Linked DNA regions of Homo sapiens: region 1 is linked to region 2. Evidence: promoter capture Hi-C in 16 types of primary human blood cells and fetal thymus (Javierre and others, 2016). All regions are on one chromosome and are shown on one strand. Each heading gives the region's core, a stretch centred on a gene start or on the middle of the fragment in contact. The rest is flanking DNA. Distances are from core to core; before and after follow the strand shown.

The links. Contacts are between HindIII fragments. The CHiCAGO score rates a contact against its expected background, and 5 or more counts as called.
Region 1: a fragment that was not itself captured here is called in contact with the fragment with the promoter of IMPA2 in region 2 in 1 of 17 cell types (M2 macrophages); the score reaches 5.2 in M2 macrophages.

Annotation. Positions count from the first base shown.
Region 1 is chr18:11,718,933-11,722,278 of GRCh38, forward strand. All of the region lies in intron 1 of GNAL (G protein subunit alpha L), which reads left to right. Among named protein-coding and RNA genes, the nearest start is that of GNAL, 31 kb to the left of the region's middle. The HindIII fragment of the contact is 649 bases long and covers 1,748-2,396 here.
Region 2 is chr18:11,979,466-11,983,019 of GRCh38, forward strand. It overlaps IMPA2 (inositol monophosphatase 2), which reads left to right and starts at 2,042. Exons shown (of 8, transcript NM_014214.3): 1 at 2,042-2,300. The coding sequence starts at 2,205. RefSeq lists silencers at 965-1,259, 1,100-2,579. The HindIII fragment of the contact is 12,350 bases long and covers 1-3,554 here.

The DNA.
Region 1 (3,346 bases), core at 822-3,321, 260 kb before region 2:
GACTTTATAAAGCAAATTTAATATGAATTTTGTGTACCATGAATTAAATGGTACACAAACTAACAAAAAGAAAATAAAAAATTTGCTGATGAATTGGATGTAAATAGGAGAGAAGGTGAGGAGTCAAGGCTGATTGTCATTTGGTGGGGACGGATAGAGCTAAAATGTATTGAGGACCTCATATGTGTACTATATATTCTCCAAACATCACAACTATTTAAAAACATTATAACTACATAAATAGTTGAAACTGTTGTGTCTGAATTCTATCATTAAAAAAAAATGTATCCTCACAATTTAAATGAAGACACCAGTCACGTGATGGTTGAGGATTGAAGGAGTGGAGGTGTTTGATGTGGATTTTTTTTTTAATTTATCTTCTTTACAAATGACAGGAAGACTGACAGCAGCAAAGATGTATTGCAAAACAGTCAGGGTTACCAGAGAGTCATGTTATTATAAAAGGTACCTAGTATTGCTGTATTTCAGCCTGAGTTTAGGTGGATAAAATCCAAGGCCTCGGTTTCTTCCTTTGATGACACTGGCATTTTATTCAAACAGAGGGAAACTGAGACCATCAGGCAGCTGACAGCTGAGCCTGCCTTAAATACAAGTGGAAGAAGAAATCCACGAAAATCTGGGTTCCTCTTATCTAAGTCATGCAATCTGTTGATACTAAATTGCTTGCGCCCTGGATGTGTAGTTGGGTTGTAGCTTTTGGAGACAAATCCAGCACACCTACTATTCCTTGAAGCATTTGAGTGGCTGATGCCTCACCCTGGAAGAACGGAAGCAGGCTGTCATGGACAGTGCAGAGCTGCACTCACACCATGCTGCAGCAGCCATGGACAGTGCAGAGCTGCGCTCACACCATGCTGCAGCGGCCGTGGACGGTGCAGAGCTGCGCTCGCACCATGCTGCAGTGGCAACATCAAGACATTTATAGCAGCATGTGTGTGTGCCAGCAATAGAGTGCAAGAGACAGATGTCCCTGGGAGGTTGGTGGACCACACAGCATACCTACTTGCTGTTTTGGCTTATGTTCCACAGCAGGGCTCCTCAACCTTTAATGAACATTTGAATCCCCAGGGATTTTGATAAAATGCAGATTCTGATTTAGTAGGTCTCAGGTGGGGCCCACAATTCTGTTTTCCTAGCAAGCACCACATGATGCTTATCAGGCTAGACTGTGAACTGTATTTTGAATAGCAAGGTGAGTCTAGACCAAGAGTTAGCAGACTGTTTCTGTAGGATGAATAGTTTAGGTTTTATAGACTAAATGGTAAAATCAAGGATTATTATGTAGATACTTACATAAGAGGAGAGAAAACAAATTTCCACCAAATTTTTATTAATGAAATCTAAAACATAAAACAAAAATAATTGTGTACAATTTTTTGTAAGATAGGTCTACTAATAAAAAGAATGCAACTGTTTTGGGGGAGGGATAACATTTCACTAAATTAATGTTCAAAGTAAGTGCTCCCATTATCAAAATCAATAGCAGATGTCATCTGTCAATGCTGACTTGTAGTGCGACGTTATGTGTTTCATCTTTGCAAATGTCTTTTCACTCAGACAGATACTGCCAAATATGGATGTCAGTCCACAAGCTTGTGATTTTTAATTGAGCATATTCATCATTTGGAAGACATCTATAAATTGTGTTTGATTCTTCTCTTGATATCTGCCTTCTGGCATTGCATAACATTGCAAACTAACCACTTCCAATTGAAGTTGAAGTGGAAGCTTCTCAATTGCACAGTTAAATGGATGTCGAAATTTGGAAATTTCCTTCGTACTTTTGTCAAGTTGTGAAAAGGCTCCTGGAATTGTCATTTGAGCTTGGAAAATATTTCTGCTGCAAATTTGTGTGGAAATGGAGAGCTCACTTCCTGTTTTACCTTTTGACAGCACAGGAAGTATGCAAAGCACCTTGACATTGTTTATGATTCAAGCAACATTAATGTCCCTAAATAACTTTATTGCAATATAAGATTTGCATACAGATGCAATTTTACCTTATAATTTTAGGTTGAATTACTTAAGAAACAGGTCTTCAGCAAAAGCCAATTTTCAAAGCAATTCAGTGTTCAATAATGGAGATTGTCAAAGGTTCTTCTCTTCCAGAAAAGTGTTCATCTCAGCTCTAAGTTCAAAAATTCACAATAAAACTTTACCACTGCTAAGCCACCGTACTGCTGTAAGCTAAGTCAGGATACTCAGCTTCTGTTTTTAACAAACATTAATGAAACTGACGATGTTCACAGAAGTAAATTTCACTCCTGATGCTAAGGGTTCAAAAACTCATGACAGATTCAAACATTGTCCGCAGAGCACTTGCTAGCGATTAGTAAGATAAATAACAATGGGATTTTAAAACCTTACATTTAACAAGCTTTGTAAATTTGTCCAACTAAACCTTTTTCTGCTCCACAGATATTTTTACCACCATCAGTGGTCACTCATCTTAGTGGATTCCACTTATTCAAGTTCACTGAATTAATGTTTCCTTAATGCCTTTGAAAATAGTCTCACCGGCTGGACACGGTGACTCAAACGCCTGTAATCCTAGCACTTTGGGAGGTCGAGGTGGGCAGATCACCTGAGGTCAGCAGTTCCAGACCAGACTCGCCAACATGGTGAAACCCCGTCTCTATTAAAAATACAAAAGTTAGCCAGGCATGGTGGCAGGTACTTGTAATCCCAGCTACTCTGGAGGCTGAGACAGGAGAATCTGTCTCTGGTAGCCAGCCATCATGCCTGGCTAATTAGAGTCTAACATGCCTGGCTAGTTAGAGTCAGGTTTTCACCATGTTGGCTAGGCTGGTCTCAAACTCCCGACATCAGGTGATCTGCCCACCTTGGCCTTGAACCCTGGAGGTGCAGGTTGTGGCGAGCCAAGATCATGCCATTGCACTCCAGCCTGGGAGACAAGAGTGAAACTCTGTCTCAAAAAATAAATAAATAAATAAATAAATAAATAAATAAATAAATAAATAATAAAATAGTCTCACCATAGCTGATTCACTAAGACAGTTCACAGAGGCTAAATTTTCAGTTCCTTTGAACTCAGCATTGACTCCTTGAATAAACAGTAACAACTGAGCATCATCGGTGTTAACATCACTAGCCAAGGAAAGCCACTCAGAATCATTCACCTTGGTTTTGAATTGACAAATAATGTTGTTCCCAACATTCTCAACTCTCCAAACAACTGTTCTTACCAAAAGACTAACAGTTTATTTTCTCTGGACACATTTCTTCAGCAGTTGCAATCAAACATGATTTAATTAACTTACCACCAGCAAATGATTTTTCCTGCTTGGCTAACAAATGAGCCACT
Region 2 (3,554 bases), core at 792-3,291:
GCTAATGAAAACCTGTCATGAAAATCAACAAGAGAATGCATTTCTTTTAAAGTAACGCATTCACAGCACAATCTTAAGTGCATTCTGAAGTCCTGCTGTCTTTTTTTTTTTTTTTTTTTTTTTGCGACGGAGTCTCACTCTGTCGCCAGGCTGGAGCGCAGTGGCGCCATCTCGGCTCACTGCAACCTCAGCCTCCCAGGTTCAAGGGATTCTCCTGTCTCAGCCTCCCGAGTAGCTGGGATTACAGACACCTGCCATCACGCCCAACTAATTTTTGTATTTTTAGTAGAGACGGGGTTTCACCTTGTTGGTCAGGCTGGTCTCGATCTCTTGACCTCGTGATCCGCCCGCCTCGGCATCCCAAAGTGCTGGGATTACAGGCGTGAGCCACCGCACCCGGCCTCTGTCTTAAACATCATAAAAACATAAGAACCCAAAAAAGATGGAGGGGAGTGCGCCCTTAGCTGCCCCAAACTGGCGTGGTGGGAGGCAGGGCAATTGGTCTAGTTTTCTGAGCCGTAGGATTAGGGCTCTGGGTGAGGCCAGAGTCCCTAAAGTTGTACCCATATCTGCGTGTTTGTATTTCCTGTTTGTAATTCCTCCTGTTTGTACTTTTTGTCTCTTATACGGTACACTTAAAGTTTCTCCACAAGGTGTTTCAGCATAAAGTACTCAAAAACTAAAAACGTTTAATTTCATTATTAGGTTAAGTGTGTAAAAAATGCCCCATCAAGGTTCTTGTACAAACTCCCATTATTCTCCCAGACTCCGAAGTGGCACTCCAGAATAATTTTACGTGGGTTAGCATCTTTTATAAAACGGGCAGGCAGAGCGGCTTATGAAATTAACCTTGGAAACCACGCGGCCACTCTTTCGGGAAATGCCTCCTATTTATGTTTACATGGGCCAGCAAGAGAATCCAAGGTTGGAAAGGTCATTCCTCACTACAGAGGCTCATCGCAATCACAGTTCCGTCTCCAAATTCGAGTTTTGGGTGTGAAGAGTTTATAAAGTCCAGCCGCTGTCCTCGCAGTGTTTGGGGTTAGCGGAGGGAGAGCTTGTTTGCGACCAAACTTGCCGCGCGGGGCGGCCGCTTGCAGGAACACTGCGGCCTTGTGCGCTCGGCGGTCTGAGCTCCTGCGAGGCCGAGAACGACGCCTAGCGCCCAGCGGCCTCCGCGAACAAAAAGCGACCGGTCGGAAGGTGCTGGCCCAGCCGCCCCTGGCGCTCGAGCCCGAATCCGGCCACAGACCATGAAGGGACGCCCGGCACCACGTGCGCGGGGATCCGCGGACGGGACGCTCCCCGGCACCTCCGGGGCTGGGCCGGCACCGCACGGTCCCACCCAGACAGTAGCTGCCCCGGGCCCCCAAAACAGCCGCTCCTAGCTCCTCCCTCCCAGCTCTGCGGTGGCCCAAGCCGCCCTCCGCGCGCTTGACCCAGAACAGTACGGAGTTCTGCACGAGCCGGGGGTGGGGCCTGTCTCAGCGCGCGGCGGTGGGGCGGGGCTTGGACACGGGCCCGGCTCAACTTGAGGGAGGCGGGGCTCGAGGCTCAGAGGAGTTGGAGCCCGCTCTGCGCGCTGCGGGACGGGGCACGGCGGAGCAGGGTTGGGTCCGCCTCGAGCGGGGAGGGTGATGCTGCACCACAGGGGCGGGGCTGGAGGTAAAGCGCGGAGCGGAGAGGGACCAGGCTCGGCACTGATTTGTGTTCAGGGCTAGCCCAGAGGGGCGGGGCCAGGTACGGGGCGCAGCCGGGAGCGGGAGGGGCGGTGCAGGACGGGGCCGGGCACGGCGCGGGAAGAGGCCAGGAGCAGCAACGGGTGCGGGGCGGGGCCGGGAGCGTCAAGGGGCGGGGAAGAGGGGGGAATGGGCGGGGCCGAGCTCTGCGAGGGGCGAGGTGGGGAATGCAGAGCGGGGCCGGACGCGGGAGCAGGGAGCTGGGCGGGGAGCGGGGCGGGGAGCTGGGCTGGGCTCGGCACGGGGCGGGGCGGAGGGTGGGGAGCGGAAAGCAGGACGCACGGCTCCCGCGGCCCGCTGGCTGCCCTTCCCGCCAGCGCAGGTGTGGGACGGGCGGCGGACTAGGCACAGAGCTGCGGGAGCAGGCACAGGGAGTGTGGAGCCTGGCGGCGGGACGGCGGGATCCGGTGGGAGCCGGAGTCCCGCCGAGGGGGGCTGGAGGTGGAGGGGCCCGGCGAGGCCGCGATGAAGCCGAGCGGCGAGGACCAGGCGGCGCTGGCGGCCGGCCCCTGGGAGGAGTGCTTCCAGGCGGCCGTGCAGCTGGCGCTGCGGGCAGGACAGGTGAGCGCCACGGCTGGGCTCGGAAGTCCGGGCGGAGCAGAAGCGCGTGGGCCTTGGGAGCCGCCTGGAGTGGCGGGGTCCTGGCGCGCAGCCGGCGGGCGCCCAGGGTCCGCACCCGAGGGCGCGGGGCGCGGAGCGGTGAAAGGAGCCTTTGTGCTGGTGTCCTGGACACACCTCCCGCGCCCTTCTCCAACTCCCGGAGCCCTGGCGGCGAGCCCCTCTGCTTTGGAGTTCAGCGGCTAACGTGACCTTTGCGTTTGAGTGAGTGGTCAGAATGTAGAAATCTCTCCAGGGGTAGCGTACGGGGCTGTTGATTTTTAAGGACCTATGAACGGATTCAGCTCGCGGTAGGAAGCCCGGGGCTAAGCCCCAGCCGCGTGGGGATCTGGCTGGGCTGCCGTTTGATTGTCCTGGCTGCAGCATCCTCAACCCAAACTTACTCTGACCCACACCCTGAAAGTGGCTCAGCTCCGCGACGGCCACGGACTCAGAGTTCAGGAGGAACTTGTTACACTGCCCGGAAGGATGAAAACCGAGCCGCAGAGCTACCGAAAACCAGCGAGCAGAGTTTAAAATGGAGTGCAGTTCCTCTCTTCTCTTTTTCATTTTTGTGATTGTTCCTTCCACTTTCCTCAGTACCTTTAGCAGTGCCTGACACACCGACGGTAGTGGTAGGCAAGCGAGTGTTGGTTCTCCCAGGACTGTAAGATGGCTTACTCCATGTTTGTCTCTTAGGATGTGATTGTGGGCCGGGCGCAGTGGCTCACGCCTGTAATCCCAGCACTTTGGGAGGCCGAGGCGGGTGGACCACTTGAGGTCAGGAGTTCGAGACCAGCCTGACCAACATGGTGAAACCCCGTCTCTACTGAAAATACAAAATTAGCTGGGCATGGTGGCGCGTGCCTTAGTTCCAGCTATTTGGGAGGCTGAGGCAGGAGAATCACTTGAACCTGGGAGGCGAAGGTTGCAGTGAGCTGAGATCGCGCCATTGCACACCAGCCTGGGCAACAAGAACAAAACTCCGTCTCAAAAAAAAAAAAAAAAAGTGATTGTTTTCGGGGATTTTAGAGACAGGAGGTGTGCTGAGAGCAGATTGGCCTTTTATATTCAAACATTTGTTTTCTTTTTTGAGGTCTGACAGTCCGAAAATGCTCTACCAGTTTCCCTAGATGTTGAAATCGGACTGTTATCAATCTTAAATTTGAAGTGAGTCGTCATAAAGTGGATAGTGCTTTACCTTGGTGCAAATCCTCT